3 separate regions of the Homo sapiens genome follow, and all the other regions are linked to region 2. The links are contacts of gene promoters, found by promoter capture Hi-C in human tissues and cell types (Jung and others, 2019). All regions are on one chromosome and are shown on one strand. Each heading gives the region's core, a stretch centred on a gene start or on the middle of the fragment in contact. The rest is flanking DNA. Distances are from core to core; before and after follow the strand shown. Region 1 overlaps WRAP73 (WD repeat containing, antisense to TP73). Region 2 holds the start of PEX10 (peroxisomal biogenesis factor 10). Region 3 holds the start of LRRC47 (leucine rich repeat containing 47).

Region 1 (2,700 bases), core at 191-2,690, 1.2 Mb after region 2:
CAGCGGGACGGGCGGGTTGCCCCGTGGTGTGCGCGGCGCAGCGGGATGGGCGGGTTGCCCCGTGGTGTGCGCGGCGCAGCGGGATGGGCGGGTTACCGAGGTGCAGCCAGCAGCCCAGACAGCTATGAGCACTCAGTGGACTTGGGCCCAAACACTGGGATCCAACTCCATCAGAAAAGCACATTATTAAAGGAATTCGTCCATTTTTCTGTATCTTAAAAAGACACTGCGGACACCAAAGACCTGGTATCTAAACACTTGACATATGCCTAATTTTAACTTAAAATGCAGTCTCCTATCCCAGATCCCTCTGATTTATTCTCGGATGTCAACATTCCCCTCCGCGCTGAGCTCAGCACGGAGGCTGTTGTGCGGTACCTACAGCAGGTGAATGGGCGGCTGCCGACCGCCCCGAGCCACGCCCCCAGGCCAGGCTCCTGAAGGAAAGGTGCGAGCCGGCTCATATCACAGCGCATTTTCTATCGTTGAATTAAAGGGAGTGCCGAAATCCTAAAAAATCTAAATTAAGATTTTTAAAATGTTTTTTCTTCAAAACTGGACAAAAGATCAGACAATAATACTTAGTGGCTTATAATGCTCTGACCTAAAATATACACACCACTATATACGCTCCCCGGCTCCCTCCAACCCCGCCAATCTACCAGCCACTCGGGAGCCACCTCAGTCATCAGACCCAGGGCAGCAGACAGTGCCTGTGTTCACGACACCCTTATCTGACTCAGTAGCAGCCCAAAGCACGGGCGGTGGGGCTCGCAATCTGGATACGCCAAAGAGAAGCCACAAAGTGCTTCCTTTAAATGACGAGCTGAAAGTTCTTGACGCAACAAGGAAAGAAAAAATCCTATGCTGAGGTTGTTGCTCAGATCTTCAGTAAGACCAAATCTTCTATCCATGCAATTATAAACAGTATATTGTTATCCTTGTTCTATACTATGATTGTTGCTAATCTCTTACTGTATCTAATTTATAAATTAAATGTATCACAGGTATGCTGTATAGGAAAAAACACAGGAAATACAGGGTTTGGTACAATCTGAATCCCCTGGTGGTCTTAGAATGCATCCCCTGAGGATAAGGGGAGACTAGCATACTCCAAACACACCCCCTCTCGCACTCCCCAGCTGTTTCGAGAGCAGAGGACAGGATCACATGGCCAGTAAGGTGTCTTGGGGCTGACACTTACATGGAATTCCGTGGTGTTGAGAATGTGGCGCCCGTCCGGGCTCCAGCACGAGGCCACCAGCCCGGCTGAGCCCTCGTCTATTTTGCAGTGCCATTCGGGCTGCTCTAAAGACCAGACCTGGATTGAGAGAAGAAAGAAACACACAAGTGCAAACTCATCAGCACCGAGAGACAGCGAGGACAGCTCGCTTAAACGCAGCGGAGACCCGACCGCACAGGGTGTCTTCAAACTCATCAGCAGTCTATAGCGAGGCCTCGCCGAGAGACAACTCCCTTAAAACCAGCAGAGACCCGATCACACAGGGTGTCTTTTAGAACCTTTCATGATGAAGGGCTGGTGCTGGATTCCAGTGTAAAAGTAAGCCACGCTTCTTGGTGATTTCATTTCGTTGTTGTTTTAAAACTGTTTATTCACATTGTCATTCCTAAGACCTCATTTAGTTAAGCTTTGGACACAGAAGAAAACACGACTTCTTAGGACTTCCTGAAACACACCACATCCGCGTGGCTAGATTGCTGTCAACACCTCCGTTTCTCAACTATATTGCTTAGAAATTAAGACTACGTTGGAGTTTCCTTAGTTTAAATGTTCTTAAACTTTAGAGAACGTTATAATTTCAAAAGAAAACTGGCTTTGAGCTGCACGGACTTTTTTTTCAAACTAGAAAGGCACAGAACAAAACCCCTCCTTCCCAGGGGCCCTCAGAAGGTGTCCAGATTCTAAGCGACACGGCAGCACACACCTGCACCAGCCCTCGCTTGTACATGGCGCACAGGATGAAGAGCGAGTCTGCCGACCACTCGATGTGCTGGATCTGGTCTAGGCACGTGTACAGCTGAAGGATCTGAAGGGTGTTCACATCCCGGACCACTAACCGGTACTGGACACAGGAAGCCTAAAAAATATGAGAAAGCAAGCACCTGACATTCTCCACTCCAAAAGAGGGGGGCCTTCGGAATGCTACTGCCCTGGCCTTCAGTGACTGTGGCCTTCTCTCCTGCCAGAGGTTTCATGTCTAGATCACCAGTGACATCCCCAGCCCCTAAAGATCAGTTCAGTTCATACAAGGGTAATGTTGAAATATACAAGCCAGGTTTTAATATTGCTATACTCTATTGTAAAGTATAAAAGTATGTTTTAACTCGCTACTTAAAGCTTTAAGACATTTTTAAGTCCCTTCTTATCTGTATGTTAAAAACTAAACTTAAATGGGAAGTAGCATTGGGAGAAAGCTCTTCTGTGAACTAATAACCAAAATCCTCTGCTAGTTTTATAAACACTTTTGGACAATTTCCTCAAATTTATAAAGGGTAAGAATTGAGGCTTCACAGATGACAACGAAAATGGCAAGGAATGCATCAATCTTCTTATGCAGTGCCGAACTCAGAGCCAAAACAACAGAAGATCAAAAGACAGGCTTTCACTTCTGCACACATAAAGATGCTTCGCAAATGCTCATTTATCTCCATTAACCTATTCCTAACACGAAACGGGAA
Region 2 (2,757 bases), core at 95-2,594:
ATGGCTTTGCCTTTTTTTTTTTTTTTTTTTTTTTGAGATGGAGTCTCACTCTGTTGCCCAGACTGGAGTGCAGTGGCACGATCTTGGCTTACTGCAACCTCCGCCTCCCGGGTTCAAGTGATTCTGTCTCAGCCTCCCAAGTAGCTGGGATTACACGCACGCGCCACCACGCCCTGCTGATTTTTGTATTTTTAGTAGAGACGGGGTTTCACCATGTTGTGTAGACTGGTCTCGAACTCCTGACCTCAAGTGATCCACCCGCCTCGGCCTCCCAAAGTGCTGGGATTACAGGCGTGAGCCACCACACCCGGCATCTTTTTTTTTTCGTTTTTTAATCGGTGATGGGGTCTGGCCCCGTCGCCCAGGCTGGAGTGCAGCGGCACAATCATGGCTCACTGCAGCCTCATCCCTCGGGCTCAGGCGATTCTCTTGCCTCAGCCTCCTGAAGAGCTGGGATTACAGACGCCGCCACCACGTCCGGCTAATTTTCAGATTTTTTGTAGAGACGGGGTCTTGCCATGTTGCCCAGGCTGGTTTCAAACTCCTGGGCTCAAGCGATCCTCCCGCCTCTGCCTCCCAAACTGCTGGGATGACAGGTGCTGCTTCATTGAGTACACTGGCTTCTGTACTCAGCTCCCGGCCTGGTGAGGCAGGCAGGGCCTGGCTGAGCCTACACTGGGGTCAGCAGGGCGAGGGGCCTGGGCTGCTGCTCAGGCCTAGGAAAGGCCGGGGTCAGTGTGAACCGGACCGAGGTATGAGGCGTTCGCGCCGCGGGCGCTCTGACCCCTCTGCTCACAGGGGAGGATCGGAGGGAGGCTTGAAGCACTTGCCAAGGCCTCACACCTGGAGGGGACAGAGTCTTCCCCAGCCGCTGGCGTCAGCTGGACCTGCCCTGAGCTGGGGACGGGAAGGGCTTGGGCGGGAACTGGAGGCCCACGCAGGTCCCCCGCGGTGTCTGCGGCCTGTGCCTCTGGGGCCACCTGGCCAGGGAGGGCAGGAGGTGCCCCGCACATCCCTGAATGGCCGCAGGGCAGGCGAAGGAGACTGCCGGGTCCCAGGTTGTGGGACGGGCCCAGGCGACCGTGACCACACACGGCAGACACCCCGCCTCCATGAGGGGCAACACCCCCTGGGCCGCTCGCGAGGACGTCCGGCCGCGCCCGGCCCTCACCCGCCAGGCTGTGCAGGGCGCCGCCCGCCGCGCTCCGCAGCCCACCGCGGTAGTACTCGTCCTTCTGCGCCGCGCGGATCACCTCCGGGGGGCTGGCGGCGGCCGGGGCCATGGCCGCGGGTTCGGGTGGTCCCGAGCAGCCACGCCGGCCACGCCCACGCCCAGACGGGCGAGAACTGATGACGGCACGACGTGGCTCTGCGTGCGGCGCAGACCTCTGCGTCAAGGTGCTGGGGCGGGGCCGGACTGGGGCTGGAGGCGGGGCCAGGGCCCGGGCGGAAGCGGGGCTGGAGTCCGAACCAGCGCAGCGCGGGGCGGGGCAGCGGGAAGGTAGTCGGAGGCGCAGGGCGGAGCGGAGCGGGGCGGGGCCCGCGAGCCGAGGTGGGGGCGGGGCACGCGCGAGGGGCGCTGGCGAGGCAGCGGGATGGGCTCGCGGCCGCGTGGTTGCTGCGACCTCGGGGTCCTACGCTGCCAGGGGCCCCTGCTCTGCTCCCTGCACGTCCACGGGCCGCCCTCCCACTGGGGACAGCGCTGCGGAGTGGAGACGCTGCAGGCCCATTTACGGCTGGGGAGACGGAGGCTTTCGCTTGGGTCTTCGGGAAGCCGAGCTCCCAGCGCCGGCCGCGGCGGTCCCGCCCTCGCGCCCTTTGAGCTGCGCGGGCTCTCAGCGCGGGTTGGCCAGTTCCGGGGAGCCGGTCGGTTTGGGGGCCAGAGGGGCACGAGGCGAGACCCGGGACCTTCCAGGCCCCGAGCAGCCGCCTTCCCCAGTAATCCTGCGCGAAAAGCACACGGCCGGCTTGGTGTGGACGCCCCCCTGGTGCCCACGGGAGGCAGGGCCTGGCGGGTGGGGGGCAGCCGGGAAGCCGCCGCGTGGTTCCAGGACGGGCGGAAGGTGGCCTTCCACCCTCCACCCTCCACCCTGCCTGGCCTGAGCCCCGCAGGTGCTCTGGGGAACCACATCGCAGGCGCTCCGATCCCTCTGCTCCCAGGGGACGAGCGGAGGGAGGCCTGAAGCACTTGCCAAGGCCGCACACCTGGAGGGGACAGAACCTTCCCCAGCCGCTGGCCACAGCTGGACCTGCCCTGAGCTGGGGGTGGGAAGGGCTGGGGCGGGAACTGGAGGCCCACGCAGGTCGCCTGCGGTGTCTGCGGCCTGTGCCTCTGGGGCCGCCTGGCCAGGGAGGGCAGGAGATGCCTGGTACATACCTGAATGGCTGCAGGGCAGGTGAAGGAGAAGGCCCTGTTTTTTGGCCCCAAGGGCAGCACTTGGCCCTGGAGAGTCCTGCAGGATTGCAGGAGGAAGGCAGGGCACGACAAGGGGGCGTCTGCGCCCCGCTGACCTCAGTGGGGAGGGCCTCCAGTTCCTTGCCTCACCTCTGGTTCCATCTACAGGAGCTCAGCTGTGGGATCATCCCCAGACTGGCACAGCCCAGTCACAAAGCCAGAGCCCCACACTGCAGGAATGGCCCCTCTTACAGGGAAGGGGCATGGCCTGGGTGGCCCCGCCCCGCAGGCCCTCTGGCTACCAAACCTCCCAGCGCCCCCGCGCCCCTTTGGAGTTCTGACCCCGCGGGTGCACCCGTGTC
Region 3 (2,844 bases), core at 307-2,806, 1.4 Mb after region 2:
TACTCAGGAGGCTGAGGCAGAAGAACCGCTTGAACCCGGGAGGCGGAGGTTGAAGTGAGCCGAGATCGCGCCACTGCACTCCAGCCTGGGTGACAGGACCAGACTACATCTCAAAAAAAAAAAAAAAAAAAAGAAATGTCTGCATAAATTCAAAGACGAAAAATGGGGGAAGAAATGCAGGACTGCCTTAAGGATGAAACCAAAAGAGAAGATGGAGAGAACATCTGGCTGGGTTTAGGTCGTGGTTCTGCCATGTGGCTTCCCTACTTTCTTTTAGGCAACAGATTCAATGGGCACCTGTTATAGGCCAAGCATTATCGCGGGGCCTGGGGATCCAAGATTAATTAGTAAACAGACGCTGGACAATATAGTCTGGAGAAAAACCCAAGTTACCTGCTGCTTACTTTGGGCAGGCCCTTTGGCTTTCTGTAAAACAGGAATAACCACCCCTACCTTGGAAAGCTGCTATTAGGATGAAGTGAAATATAATCTTCAAGATCACAGCATGTGGCATTATGCAAAATCCAGGGTGCCCCCTTCACCACCAGACTCACTCTCAAGTCACTTCACAAGTACTAGATACAAAAAAGACAGGTCTCTACGCTCGATCTACAGGAGAAGCCAGGTTTGCTAACAATTACAAAATAGCGTACCACGTGTAAAAGTCCAGTTAACAGAATGCGGGGGAGTTCAGAGGCCACCTAGTATGTTGGTGTGGCCAGGAGAAGGGGGAGTTGGAAGGCGGCATCTGCTTCCCAGGGGTGATGCCCCCCGCAGCTGGCTCCTTTCAGCCTTGTAGGAATTCCCTGGGCCCAGTGCCCCAGGGGGCGTCACTAGGAACTGCTCGGCCCCGAGAGGGGTTCCTTCTCCAGGGCTACTCCAAGGCCCCATCCCGCCCCGCCCGGGCAGCCCCCGCTGACCTTGAGCGAGGCCAGGTGGGCGATGTCGGGGCTGAGTTCTCGGAGGCAGTTGTCAGCAGCCGCCAGTTCACTGAGCAGGGGCAGCGCGCCGGGGCGAAAGAGCTCGGCGGGAAAGGAGTCTAGGCAATTGCCGGTGAGGTTGAGGCTCTGCAGGCGCGGGGCGCAGCGCGCCAGGTCGGCTGGCAGCTCGCGCAGCCGGTTGCCGCTGAGGTTGAGGCTCTGCAGCTGCGGAAGGCCCGGCGGCTCGGCGGGGCCCAGGCCTTGGCCCGGCGGCAGCGCCTCCAGCGCGTTGCCCGACAGGTCGAGCACCCGAAGGGCAGGCAGCGGCCCGAGCTCGGGGCTCAGGCCGGGCCCCAGCGCGTTGCGCCGCAGCACGAGGCTGTGCAGCTGCGGCAGGCCCTGCGCCAGGCCAGGCCCCGGCGCGCGCAAGCTCCCGCAGCCGCTCACTTCCAAGTAGTGCAGCAGCGGCAGGGTGAAAAGCCGCGGCGGCAGCTGCCCACCCGCCGCCCGCACTCGCTCCTCCAGCCCGGGCCCCGTCAGCAGCAGCTCCCGCCGCCGCTCGCGCTCAGCCAGCTCCAGCTCCGGCCAAGACTCTGACACCGCTGCCGCCGCCATGGCGCCTCAGCTGCTGGCAGGCACCCACCCACCAGGGTGCTTCCGGGGCAGCGCGCGCCACTTCCGACCTGTGCCGGAAAAGCCCATAGAGAAGCCACCTGGCTGCTAGAGTGCCGCCGCGCGTGCCATAGAGGAGAGTGGCCTCTCCTGCGTAGAGCCGGGGAGGGGCTGGAGAGCGGCTCGCTCTCTCCGCGGGTAGGGGTGAGGGTGGGGGTTATGAACCCAAAAATATCTGAGACAGGACTCAATGAAATGTAAAAAGTTTATTTTGCCAAGGTTAAGGACACGCCAGTGTCACAACCCTAGGAGATCGTGACGATGGTGCCCAGGGAAGTTGGGATGCAGCTTGGTTTTGTACATTTTGGGGAGACGTGAGACATCAATCAACACGTGCGAGTGTACCTTGGTTCAGCCCAGAAAGGCTGGACAATTCCAGGAGAGGGCTTTCAGGTCACAGGTAGAGAAGAGACCGGAGGGTGCATTCTTTTGAGTCTTTGTTCAGCCTTTCGCTGACTGCACAATTTATTATGCATGTGAGACGCGGGTAGAGGAATAGTCGCTTATGCTTTAGTCTGGCTTACTGAATCTTCATTTCTACGTAAACAGTAGAGCAAAGGAAGCGATCAGATATGCATTTGTCTAGGTGAGCAGAGGGATGGCTTTGAGTTCAGTCCTTTGTCTCGCACCTGTGAAGGGAAGCTATCAATTTGCATTGCCAGGGTGAAATTCAACAGAACTGTTTTAGGGTAAAGATCTTGAGGCCCACAGAGAATTTCTTTGTGGGCAAATTGTGAGGGAGGTGTGTAGCTTTAAAAATATGTATTTGTAACTATCTTATTTAGGAATAAGACGGGAGGCCGATTTGCCCGAAGCAGTTCCCAGCTTGACTTTTTCCTTTGACTTAGTGATTGTGGGGTTTTGAGATTTATTTTCCTTTCACAGGGTGGGGTGCGGGCGGATGGAGGAGCCAGAGTCTGTGCTCTACTGTGCCCCGACCGGCTTGTTTTGGAATTCCTGCACTTTTGAGTGGTGTAAACCAAAACCAAAATTCTTTTTTTTTTCTTGAGACGGAGTCTCGCTCTGTCACCCAGGCTGGAGTGCAGTGATGCTATCTTGGTTCACTGCAACCTCCGCCTCCTGGGTTCAAGCAATTCTCCTGCCTCAGCCTCCCGCTGGAACTACAGGTGCATGCCACCGTGGCCGGTTAATTTTTATATTAACCGTGTTAATATAATTTTTATATTAACCGGTTTTCGCCATGTTGGCCAGGCTGGTCTCGAACACCTGACCTCAGGTGATCTGCTCGCCT

The links. Contacts are between HindIII fragments. The study calls those that stand out against the background at their distance.
Region 1: a contact is called between a fragment that was not itself captured here and the fragment with the promoter of PEX10 in region 2, in 1 of the 25 tissues and cell types used here (aorta).
Region 3: a contact is called between the fragment with the promoter of LRRC47 here and the fragment with the promoter of PEX10 in region 2, in 1 of the 25 tissues and cell types used here (spleen).

Annotation. Positions count from the first base shown.
Region 1 is chr1:3,645,462-3,648,161 of GRCh38, forward strand. It overlaps WRAP73 (WD repeat containing, antisense to TP73), which reads right to left. Exons shown (of 12, transcript NM_017818.4): 2 at 1,947-2,099; 3 at 1,205-1,321. Among named protein-coding and RNA genes, the nearest start is that of WRAP73, 3.3 kb to the right of the region's middle. The HindIII fragment of the contact is 3,229 bases long and covers 1-2,700 here.
Region 2 is chr1:2,411,220-2,413,976 of GRCh38, forward strand. PEX10 (peroxisomal biogenesis factor 10) reads right to left here and starts at 1,345. Exons shown (of 6, transcript NM_002617.4): 1 at 1,172-1,345. The coding sequence starts at 1,283. RefSeq lists enhancers at 1-572, 573-1,153, 1,154-1,734, 1,735-2,314 and silencers at 931-1,310, 1,471-2,070. The HindIII fragment of the contact is 18,898 bases long and covers 1-2,757 here.
Region 3 is chr1:3,794,942-3,797,785 of GRCh38, forward strand. LRRC47 (leucine rich repeat containing 47) reads right to left here and starts at 1,557. Exons shown (of 7, transcript NM_020710.3): 1 at 921-1,557. The coding sequence starts at 1,535. RefSeq lists a silencer at 1,119-1,328 and an enhancer at 1,444-1,738. The HindIII fragment of the contact is 16,536 bases long and covers 1-2,844 here.